Regions from separate parts of the Homo sapiens genome. Here all the other regions are linked to region 3. The links are contacts of gene promoters, found by promoter capture Hi-C in human tissues and cell types (Jung and others, 2019). All regions are on one chromosome and are shown on one strand. The core of a region is centred on a gene start or on the middle of the fragment in contact, and the rest is flanking DNA. Distances in the headings are between cores, read along the strand shown. Region 1 has its middle 13 kb from the start of ZNF66. Region 2 holds the start of LOC124904663 (a long non-coding RNA gene). Region 3 holds the start of ZNF738 (zinc finger protein 738).

Region 1 (4,020 bases), core at 1,239-3,738, 600 kb before region 3:
AACAAACAAACAAAGCAAAAAAATAGCCAGGCACGGTGGCTCATGCCTGTAATGTCAGCACTTTGTGAGGCCGAGGCCGGTGGATTACCTGAGGTTCAGAGTTCAAGACCAGCCTACCCAGCTACTTAGGCGGCTGAGGCAGGAGAATCATTTGGACCTGGGAGGCGGATGTTGTGGTGAGCCGAGATCGTGCAATTGCACTCCAGCCTGGGCAACAAGAGCAAAACTCGGTCTCAAAAAAAAAAAAAAAAAAAAAAAAGAGGCCAGGAGCGGTGGCTCATGCCTCTAATCCAAACACTTGGGAGGCTGAGGCGGGCAGATCACCAGGTCAGGATATCAAGACCAGCCTGGCCAACATGGTGAAACCCCATCTATACTGAAAATACAAAAACATTAGCTGGGCGTGGCTGCGCACGCCTGTAGTCCCAGCTGCTCGAGAGGCTTAGGCGGGAGAATTGGTAGAACCTGGCAGGTGGAGCGTGCAGTGAGCCAAGATAGCGCCACTGCACTCCAGCCTGGGTGACAGAGAGAGACTTCTTCTCAAAAAAAAAAAAAAAGAAAAAAAATGCAGATTCACCTTCTTAGCAAGAGCAGAGCTGCAGTTCTCCATGATATGTTTGGACACCTCTTGTGGGAGATCTGCTGTGCCCAGTGCCTGGACTCTTCCATGCTTATGTTTCTTGCTGCCACTCTTGAGTACCTGATGCCCCATATCCTGGAGCTGGTGACCAATGAAGCTCATAATAGCCACAGAAGGTACAGTTATATTATCATCTATATTACATATGATTATCTATGTGTGTATTATATATATACATATATTCTATATATTATATAAAATGTATATATATGTTTTGGACAAAGACATATTCAAACAATAGTTAATAGTTTTTAAATATTCAGAATCAAAATTATTTATAAATATATTTTATTACAAACACAATTATTCATCTTATTCTTAGCCAAAACACCTGATCTGTCTAATAAGCACATATTTCACAGAGCTACATAGAGTTATCAATGGCTAAATACATTTTATAGGGAAAAGTATACTCTATAGAAATTCTGCCTTAATTGAAGAACTCAAAGCCCCAAATGTTATAAACACTTTTATGGCTGCATTAAGTTAAAAATAAGTGTTCCATCAAGTGTTGGGTCAATCTAACTCCTTTCTCCTGAGTATCAACATTTGAAGTTTTCACCTATTCACCAAAGACTCAAAGGCCACCCTCTGGTATCTCTGGCCTTTTCATAGACAGATGGTAAGAAGCTGCCCAGCTCATTTCAAGTTCAAGGTCAGATGGTTTCTTCTAGAAGTTCCAGTTTACTGTGTACCAGCCATGTGATTCTGTATATTCATTTATTCTCTCTAAGCAGCCGTCTCCATCTGTGTAAAATCAGGATGATGAATTTCTCTATCTTTGGGTTATCCCAAATAAGAAGTCAATTTGAGCTTAAGTTTAAGCTTAATGCAATGCTTGGCACCACAAGGCATGACACAGGATGCTAAACTGGGCACCTGTATTTTACAAAACTAGAAAACTTTGAGTTTCTTCCCTCTCCTGCATTTTCACATGTATTTGGTTTAATCTCTAAATCTGTTGAAGTTGAATAGATGTGTAGACAGGGATTGAGATTAATAATCTCATTTACAAAAACATAAAAAAGAATGAAATACGTAGAAATAAATTTATTGAAAGAGGTAAAAGATCTATACACTAAAAACTCTAAAACATTAAATAAATTGAAGGAACTAAAAAATTGAAAGATACACCATGCTTATGAATTGAAAGAATTAATATTGTAAAAATGTCCATACTACCCAAAGTGATCTACAGATTAAATGCAATCCTTATAAAAATTCCAATTATATTTTTCTCAGAATTTAAAAAGTAATTATCAAATCTCTATCAATTCATGAAAGACCCAGAATAGCCTAAGCAATATTGAGGAAAAACAACAAAGCTGGAGGCATCATACTACCTGGTTTCTGAATATATTACAAAGCTACAGTAAGGCCAGGTGCAGTGGCTCACACCTGTGATCCCAGCACTTTGGGAGGCCAAGGTGGGTTGCTTGAGTCCAGGAGTTCTAGACCAGCCTTGGCACCATAGCAAAACACCATCTCTACAAAAAATAGAAAAATTAGCAGAGTTTAATGGCACAAACCCATAGTCTCAGCTACTTGAGATGCGGAGGTGAGAGGATTCCTAGATCCTGTGAAGTTGAGGCTGCAGTGAGCCACGATGAAGCAACTGCACTCCACCCTGGGCAACAGACTGAAACCTGTCTCAAAAAAAAGCTACAGTAAGCAAATAGCATGGTACTGGATAAAAATAAACACACACAAATGAAGCATAATACCAAGTCAAGAAATAAATGTATCTACTTCATTTCTGGTAATGAAGGAACAATGTTTTCACCAGCAGGCTTCACCTTTCAGTGTTCTATCAATGAATATTTATCGGTAGATTATTTTTAATCTAACTTCAAGCATTCTGTAGCAGGCCAGATGAGGGCAGATCAGATGAATGTTAACATGAAAATTTTGTGGATTTATAGTTAATGAGTAATCATTTATGAAAGACTTACCCTATATTTCTGCAGTTGAATTATTTGCAGTTGGTCTAGTGGTGAGCACAGTCAATAAGAAACAGATAAATAAATAAATAAATGTATAATAAGAAACTAAATCAGTAGCCTGAAGAAAAAGTAGAGTTCTATTTGAAACAATAAAGAAAGAGAGAGAATGCTTACTGATCTTTTTTTTAAAATCTGTGATGGTCAATCAATATTTCTCTCTCAGAAGGCAAAAAAAAAAAAAAAAGGTAGCCAGGAGACAGGATTAATTTGTATCTCCTGCTTGGATGGACAGAACAGCATGTGGAGACTCTCATCATGAACTTTTACTCCAAGAACTACCATAGGAACATACCAGGAAAACCAAAAGAATGCACAGACTCTTTGAAAGAAGTGGCTTGCCACTGCAACCTCTGCGAGACAACTGAAAAACAGCAAGTGCCAAAAGTGTAAGAGAAGGAACATTCACCTCTAAACACACATACTCAAAACCTGAAAATCCAGATTACCAGAGAAGGATTTAGCCTTACCTAGGGCCGAAATGAATTTAGAGAGCCAAGCAAAATATAAAAGCAGAAGCAGTGGGAAGAGCCCCATAGGCACTCTTGATCCTCAGGGAAGCCATTTCTGACTTTATCTCACAGGGGTCCTTGGGAAGGGCTGCCAGTGGAATTGGGGAAGGGCTACAGGGAGAAGAAAACTTCCAGCTAAACCCTGTAAGAATTTTGACCTAGTGTCAATGTTCCTTGGCAGAATCGATGAGGGGACAGTGAATGAGAAGCACAGATACGGGCACAAAAGCCATGGCAGGTGGTGAGGGGTGGCGCCTGAAAGCCCAGGTTGCTTTCTCAATGGGGAGGCTTATAGCCTGGGGCAAGATCTCAGTACTGCTCACGGACTGGATATAAACTTGGTGCTGTTTGTGGGGTAGGGTGTGAATGAAACTGGCCTTGCTGGCTTCATGGGAGCTGAGTGAGGCCTGTCACTGCTGGCTTTCCTTCACTTCCATCCTGACCTGTATGATACAGCAGAGGCAGCCATAATCCCCCTGGGAACATAACTCCATTGGCCTGAGATCCATACTCCCAACCCCACAGCAGCTGCAGCAAGCCCCACCCAAGGAGGGTCTGAGCTCAGACAGGTCTAACCTTGTCCTCGCCTGATGCCCTTACTCTACCCATGCTGGTAGCTGAAGACAAAAAACATACTCTCTTGGGAGCTCTATGTTCCCACCCATTGCCTGAGAAACCTGAATACTTATCCAGGTGACCCAATGGCAAGCTTGCCTACACCCTATACTACCACAACTGATGCCGTATTGAAAATCCCACCTCTAGGTTGGAGGCCAACCAACTCAAGCCATTACATCAACTCATCAAAGAACCCCAACCAGGTGGTGTGGCTCACACCTGTAATCCCAGCATTTTGGGAGGCTGAGAT
Region 2 (3,959 bases), core at 16-2,515, 940 kb before region 3:
ATAGGGGTTCTGTATTGAAATACATCTGACAACTTCCCACAACACCTTCTGATGAAGAAATAGAATCTGACTGTGTTCATTTATTGGAATATATTAGAACTTGCAACATAGCTAACTGAAGAGCTACTATGGTTTTTGGTGGCCACATCACCTGTCTTTATTTGTCATGTAATAGCAGCATACCAATTTAGTGAAATAAAAGATATTAAAATTTTGTTTACTCATAATTATCCCTATTGAATAAAGTAATAAACATGTCACACTAATATCTACTTACTGTGACAATTTGGTAATAAATTTTCTTTAGATATTAGATATAAATATCAGTATGAATAATTTTAATAAACTAGTAATAATATATGTAGTTTTAAAAATTGCAACTATACTTCAGTTAAAACACTTTATATTTCAAAAGTATAAATTACAATATTAAAATAACCATGTAAGTGATTCATTCAAAGTAAGTATTGCGGCTTTATATTCATGTTACTGTAGAAAATACTGTTTATGGCTCATGCCTTGTCCACACTTCGGGAGGCTGAAATGGGTGGGTCACCTGGGTCAAAAGTTCAAGATCAAACTGGAGAACATGGTGACACCCATCTCTACTATAAATACAAAAACTTAGTCAGGAATGGTGATGCACACCTGTAATCCCAGCTACTCAAGAGGCTGAGGCAGAAGAATCGCTTGAACCCGGGAGGCAGCGGTTGCAGTGAGCCGAGATCATGCCATTGCACCCCAGCCTCAGCAACAGAGTGAGACTCTGTCTCAAAAGAAAAAAAAAAAGAGAATACTGTTAAATGTATATAAATGCAGGTTGTCTACAAACATTACGTATAACTATGCTAATTATTCTGAAGTAATAAATAGAAAGCAAGGTACAACTACTGACTCCACTGTTAAGTTTATACACTAGACTGTTCTTGTTTTTGCAGTGCAAGTACTTCAGCCTGCAAATATTGGATAATTTCCTTAGATCATCAGGTTTCTGTCAAAGAAACGTAGTATCTTTTATTGTTTACCATTCTGTGTTACTAAATTTAATCCTATCTTTGTGCTAAGCTTTTTTGTGCTCTAAAATTAGCTTTTACCTAAACAAATCTGTGTCTATTTTAAAGGACTAAAAATGAAAAAAATAAAGTTTTCAGAACCAAAAACAAACCAATAAATCTGAAGTACCAGATAACGATAATCTGGAGTCAGAAAAATGACAAAAGGGGATGGGCATGGTGGCTCACGCCTGTAATCCCAGCACTTTGGGAGGCAGAGGTGGGCGGATCACAAGGTCAGGAGGTCAAGACCATCCTGGCTAACATGGTGAAACCCCGTCTTTACTAAAAATACAAATTAGCCAGGTGTGGCAGCATGCGCCTGTAGTCCCAGCTACTTGGGACGCTGAGGCAAGAGAAGGGCATGAACCTGGGAGGCAGATGTTGCAGTGAGCCGAGATTGCCCCACTGCATTCCAGCCTGGGTGACAGAGCGAGACTCTGTCTTAAAAAAAAAAAAGAAAATGAAAAAGAAAAAATGACAAAAGACATTATTTAGCTGTTAATATGATTTACATACATTTCAAAAAAGCAGAGAAAATTGTCTATATATAATCTAAATCCCTTAAGCAAAGAGGGAATAGCAAAATATTTTTTTGGAACTTATTGAAGAGTTTTGAACTCTTGGACATCTGAAATTTGCACACTCTATGCACTTGACAGAATGTTTATGAAGGAAAAACCAGAAAAGAGAAAGATGTTATAAAAAAATCCATGAGTGCACAAGACCAATGCAACAGAATAGAGAGCCCAGAAATAATGCCACCCTCCTACAACCATCAGATTTTTGATGAAGCTGACAAGAGAAATGTGGGAAGGATTCTCTATTTAATAAACAGTGCTGGAATAACTACCTAACATTATGTAGACGACTGAAGCTAGACCTCTTCATTATACCGTATACAAAAATCAACTCAAGATAAATTAAAGACTTAAGTGTAAAACTTAAAATTATGGCGGGGCGCGGTGGCTCATGCCTGTAATCCCAGCACTTTGGGAGGCCGAGGCGGGTGGATCACGAGGTCAGGAGATCGAGACCATCCTGGCTAAAATGGTGAAACCCCGTCTGTACTAAAAATACAAAAAATTAGCCAGGCATGGTGGCGGGCGCCTGTAGTCCCAGCTACTCGGGAGGCTGAGGCAGAATGGTGTGAACCCGGGAGGCGGAGCTTGCAGTGAGCCGAGATTACACCACCGCACTCCAGCCTGGGCGACAGAGCGAGACTCCGTCTGAAAAAAAAAAAAAAAACAGAAACCAACCAAACAAAAAAACCCTTAAAATTATGAGAAACCCTCCAAGATAACCTAGGAAATACCATTCTAGACATAGAAACTGGCAAAGACTTCATGAGGAAGCTACCAAAAGCAACTGCAACAGAGGCAAAAATTGAAAAATGGGACCTATTTTTCAATTGTGAAGATCTTAAGAGCTTCTTCACAGCAGAAGAGATTATCAACAGAGTAGACAACCTACAGAATAAAGGAAAATATTTGCCTCTGACAAAGGTCGACTTTCCAGAATTTATTAAGAGCTTAAACAAGTTTACAAGAAAAAAACAAGCAACCTCATTAAAAAGTAGACAGGACGGGCACAGTGGCTCACGCTTGTAATCCCAGCACTTTGAGGGGACAAGGAGGGTGGATCACTTGAGAGGAGTTCAAGACCAACCTGGCCAACATGGTGAAACCCCGTCTCTACTAAAAATATCAAAAATTAGCTGGGCGTGGCGGCAGGTGCCTGTACTCCCAACTACTCAGGAGGCTGAGGCAGGAGAATGGCTCAAACCCAGGAGGTGGAGGCAGAGGTTGCAGCCAGCTGAGATCACGTCATTGCAATCCAGCCTGGGTGACAAGAGCAAAACTGTTGCAAAAAAAAAAAAAAAAAAAAAAAAAGTAGGCAAAGGCTGGGTGCGGAGGCTCACACCTGTAATCCCAGCACTTTTAAAGGCTGAGGTGTGCTAATCACCTGAGGTCAGGAGTTTAAGATCAGCCTGATAAACATGGATAAATCCCGTCTCTACTAAAAATACAAAATTAGCTAGGCATGGTTGTGTGCACCTGTAATCCCAGCTACTTGGGAGGCTGAGGCAGGAGTATTGCTTGAACCTGAGAGTCAAAAGCTGCCGTGAGCCAAGATCGCACCATTACACTCCAGCCTGGGCAATAAGATCAAAACTCTATCTCAAAAGACAAAACAAAATGAAACAAATAAATAAATAAATAAAACTAATGTAGAAACAGAAAACCAAATGCATGTTATTATTTAAGTAAGTGCTAAATAATAAGAACACATGAACACAAAGAGGAGAACAAGAGACACTGAGGCCTAGTTGAGGGTGGAGGGTGGGAGAACTAAGAGGATCAGAAAACATACCTGTTTGGTACTATGGGTAGGACCTCAATGACAAAATAATCTGCACACCAAACCCCCATGACATAATTTTAGCTGTATAAAAAACCCACACATGTACACCGAATCACAAATAAAACCTAAAAGAAAAAAATACTCCAAGGTGGGGGAGAGTGCAATGTAGGTGCATGGACTGCTTTTCACTATAGATAGTAGCCCAGGTGGGGCTGTACTCTGATTTATTTCTGTGTGAATGCAGGTAGATGAAATTACAAACAGGTGGCCCAGACCCTAGGCTGGTGGAGAAAACAGGTTGCTGCTGCAAATTTAGTATCTAGGGGTGGGGATATGCCAGGAGACTTGTAGAGATTTTTGGGTTCTTGGCAAGAAACACTAGGATCAAAAATGCCATGGTGAAGTTCTTGAGGGTGGTGCCGAGTCCTGGGAGAAGTGTGGATACCTCAATTTCTAGTGTGTGTGTTTGTGAGTGGGTGGGAATCCTGTAGTAGCAGCTGCAAGAAAAGGGGTCTGTCATAAGAGCTTCTTCTGAGTTTTCAG
Region 3 (4,074 bases), core at 1,057-3,556:
GGTGCTTTTACAGCTGTTTCCATCAAGATCCAGAATCTGTCTTCTAAACCCTAGATCTGGCTGGCCTTATTTGCTCAGGGCAGTAGAAACTTGTGAACATGACAGTGGGCTAGTTTGGGGCCCAGGCTCAAATGGTCTTGAATACTTCTGTTTTTTGTTCAGAATGCTGCAATCTCCATGAATAAAGCCCATGTTAGCAAGCTTAAAAATAAGATACCATGAGGAGGAGAAGCAAGGTGCCCCTGTTGAGCCCCAGAAGCAGAAGATCACCCCCAGAAGTACAGCTGGCTAGTCAACAAGCAGCTGATGATACCAGTCTGAAAGAGCTCAGCTGATACCAGAAGAACGGCCCCACTCACCCAGCCTAAATGGCTGATCATCTTAATTATAAACTAGTAAGTTTTGGATGATTTGTTATGCTGCAATAGCTAACTAATACATGCACCAGTGCAGATAGGATGCCAGGATTCAGTGACAGGTTGATTACTTGTTGCCTTCTAACAGTGGGCACCCTCTAGGTACTGATTTCTTCCCCTAATTTAAAGTTGGATGTCTTGAAAGAGAATGTTGGGTAATGCAGAAATACTGGGAGACATGTATGCATGTGATTGGTGTTTATATTCGCACAGTCCCCACACCACAGGAGAAAACAGATAACCACAGCCTCGCAATTAGGGTCAAGGCCAAATAGCAAAATAAGTTTGCCTTTAATCTATTTTCTCTGTATCTAAACACTGGAGTCCAAGAATGTGGGCAGAACTGAAGACACAGAGTTTTTTTCTCCTAAGCTCCATCATCCTATGTTCACAGCCTAATCTCTAAAAGAAAGGTGGGCAACAGGTGGTAAGCAGTGGTTTACCTGTGGTTATTTTATTTCTGCTGCCCTCAGCTCTTTCTATGGCCACTATCTGTTCCAACCTCAGAACTGAAGATAGATGTTAGTAGGGAGAGGCCCTTCCTTCCCCTCTGGCCCTTCACACCATTGACATCAGAGCTGCCATGTGTGGCTCCTGGGTGCCTGGAATGTGCTTGGTCTGAACCGCGATATGCTAGAAAGGTAAAACACAGAGTTATTTTCAAAAATTTAGTTGCAAATATTTATATACTTCATTAATAATTACATATTCCTCACACATTAAAATGATATTTTGTATATATTAGGTTAATTACATTGTTACAATCAATTCAACCTGTTCCTTGTTATTGTTGTTGTTGTTGTTGCTGTTGTTGCAGTCTGTCACTAGGCTGGAGTGCAGTGGCGCAATCTCGGCTCACTGCAACCTCTGCCTCCCGGGTTCAAGCGATTCTCCTGCCTCAGCCTCCCCAGTAGCTGGGATTACAGGCATGCGCCACCACGCCTGGCTAATTTTTATATTTTTTTCAGTAGAGACAGGGTTTAGCCATATTGCCAGGAGGGTCTCAATCACTTGATCTCGTGATCCACCAGCCTCGGCCTCCCAAAGTGCTGGGATTACAGGCGTGAGCCACTGCGCGTGGCCTCTTGTTTCTTTATATTTTTCACCCCCCAAAACGGAGTCTCGCTCTGTCCGCCCAGGCTGGAGTGCAGTGGCGCGATCTCTGCTCACTGCAACCTCCTCCGCCTCCCGGGTTCAAGCAATTCTCCTGCCTCAGCCTCCTGCGTAGCTGGGATTACAGATGTCCACCACCACGCCCGGCTAATTTTTGTATTTTTAGTAGAGACGTGGTTTCACCATGTTAGCCAGGCTGGTCTCAAACTCCTGACCTCTTGATCTGCCCGCCTTGTACTCCTAAAGTCCTAGGATTACAGGCGTGAGCCACCATGCCTGGCCCCTTGTTTCTTTTTAATTTTCTAGTTTGGCTACCAGAAAATTCAAAATTCACGTGGCTCACATTTTATTTCAGAGGATTACCTCCTTTTTAAAATCTCAGGCTGCCTGCTCAAAGGACCGTAAGCCAGGAAAGTAAAAAAACCCTGAAATTTTAAAACATTTGTTATTATATCCTTTTCATTTATGTATAGCCATATGATATAGTATTTACAAATGCATATGACCTTATACGCAAGGTTGAATGCAAATACCCTTTGGGGTGGGCCTATCTCAGCTCAAGGAGGAAGCCCTGCCTGAAAAGGCTGCAGCCTAGGCGGTCACTCTTTCTTCATTCAGCCCAGCATCTAATTACATCTTCTGTCAGTCAGGGCCTGAGAGGGTGGGGTTTTAAACGTTATCCAATCAGCGACGCTGGGCTGGGAACTGTCCAATCAGGCACGCAGCTTGAGCGGAGAGGACGGCTTCCGGGATGTGGCGGGATTTGTCCGCTTCTTTGTCTTTGGCTGCCGCTGGAACTCCGGGTCTCGTCTTCACTGCTCTGTGTCCTCTGCTCCTAGAGGCCCAGCCTCTGGTCCTGTGACCTGCAGGTATTGGGAATCCACAGCTAAGACGCCGGGACACCCTGGAAGCCTAGAAATGGTGAGAGTGCGGGGTCCAACATCCCGAGAGAGGGGAAGGGCTGGTTGGAACCGGTGGGAAGTGGCTGTGGCGAGACTCAGGCCTCCCCGCAGTCAGCTCTACAATCTGCGCCCCGAGTTCTCCTTGCCCAGCTCGGCCTCAGTCGCCTTCAGCCATAAGATGGCGGTTGCGCCGACAGCCCGGCCCCCGGGCGTCCTGTCTCTTCCCTGCATAGTGACTGTGCCCTTGCCTGGAGCCCTCTCTGGGGAATCTCTGCACCCGCAGCGCCGCTTCTCTACCGGATTGTGCAGGGACCGTGGGAGGGTCGTCAGGGGAGAATCCTGACTTGGGGTGCGGGTTCATGAATGGGAAGAGGTTTGTTCCGTGGGGTTCCCAGTTCCTATTATCTCCTATTAAAAGTTAATGGGAGTCACTGCAAAAATATTAAAAGAATTTAATCAAAGAGTGGTTCTAGGCTGGGCGCGGTGGCTCACGCCTGTAATCCCAGCACTTTGGAAGGCCGAGGTGGGCGGATCAGAGGTCAGGAGATCAAGACCATCCTGGCTAACACGGTGAAACCCCGTCTCTACTAAAAATACAAAAAATGAGCCGGGCGTGGTGGCGGGCGCCTGTAGTCCCAGCTACTCAGGAGGCTGAGGCAGGAGAATGGCGTGAACCCAGGAGGCAGAGCTTGCAGTGAGCCGAGATCGTGCCACTGCACTCCAGCCTGGGCGACAGAGCGAGACTCTTGTCTCAAAAAAAAAATTAACTTATTAAATAATTTAATCAAAAAGTGGTTCTAGAATTGTAGAGCACCAAGCTGTGGTTTTTAGTTTGTGGTCTATGGGAGAGGCTTGAAAGAAAGTCTTTTGTAAAATGCATGATGAAGAAAACCAAATTTAGTAATTGGTTAGGTACAGTTACGTGGTTTTTTAATTTGTACATTAAAGGTGAAAATTTCCTGGTTATGTAATCGGAGCTCAATTGGCAGTTTATAGTAGGTGAAGCCTCAATTTTGTTTCTCTGAATTTAGTAATTAAAAATAATGCGCCTGAGTTAGATTTTTTAAATTGAAGTAGGAACCCAGGGACTAGAGAAACCTCAGTCTAATTGCCTGCCACTTAATTATTTTCACACTCCACAGGGAACTGATTTTCTGCTGCATTTTTCACCTGGGTCCCAATCAGGGTCTTAAGTCTAACCCCCATCCCTCATTACTCCAACCTCATTCTTGCTTGCAGTAAGATACTAAATTTCCAATTTCTTCTGGGGTTCCCAAATGCCAGCTTTTCCTCCCTAATTCACATTATCACGTATTTGTGTTTTTTTGTTTGTTTTGTTTTGTTTTTGAGATGGAGTCTCGCTCTGTCTCCCAGGCTGGAGTGCAATGGCGCGATCTCGGCTCACCTCAACCTCCGCCTCCCGGTTTTAAACAATTCTCCCACTTCAGCCTCCTTAGTAGCTGGGATTACAGGTGCGCGCCATCATACCTGGCTAATTTTTGTGTTTTTGTAAAGACGGGGGTTTCACCATGCTGGCCAGGCTGGTCTCGAACTCCTGACCTCAGGTGATCCGCCCGCATCAGCTTGCCAAAGTGCTGGAATTACAGGCGTGAGCCACCGGGCCTGGCCACTTATTTTGTAGT

What was found. The method cuts DNA at HindIII sites, captures the fragments that hold promoters and counts their contacts. A contact is called where the count stands out against the background at its distance.
Region 1: a fragment that was not itself captured here is called in contact with the fragment with the promoter of ZNF738 in region 3 in 1 of the 25 tissues and cell types used here (lymphoblastoid cells).
Region 2: a contact is called between a fragment that was not itself captured here and the fragment with the promoter of ZNF738 in region 3, in 1 of the 25 tissues and cell types used here (lymphoblastoid cells).

The regions. Positions count from the first base shown.
Region 1 is chr19:20,761,043-20,765,062 of GRCh38, forward strand. No RefSeq gene overlaps it. Among named protein-coding and RNA genes, the nearest start is that of ZNF66, 13 kb to the right of the region's middle. The HindIII fragment of the contact is 4,086 bases long and covers 446-4,020 here.
Region 2 is chr19:20,417,018-20,420,976 of GRCh38, forward strand. It overlaps LOC124904663 (a long non-coding RNA gene), which reads right to left and starts at 3,126. Exons shown (of 2, transcript XR_007067167.1): 1 at 3,110-3,126. It also overlaps the pseudogene ZNF826P and the pseudogene BNIP3P22. The HindIII fragment of the contact is 4,759 bases long and covers 1-3,645 here.
Region 3 is chr19:21,356,694-21,360,767 of GRCh38, forward strand. It overlaps ZNF738 (zinc finger protein 738), which reads left to right and starts at 2,307. Exons shown (of 5, transcript NM_001355237.2): 1 at 2,307-2,450. The coding sequence starts at 2,448. RefSeq lists enhancers at 1,020-1,577, 2,369-2,668. The HindIII fragment of the contact is 7,981 bases long and covers 1-4,074 here.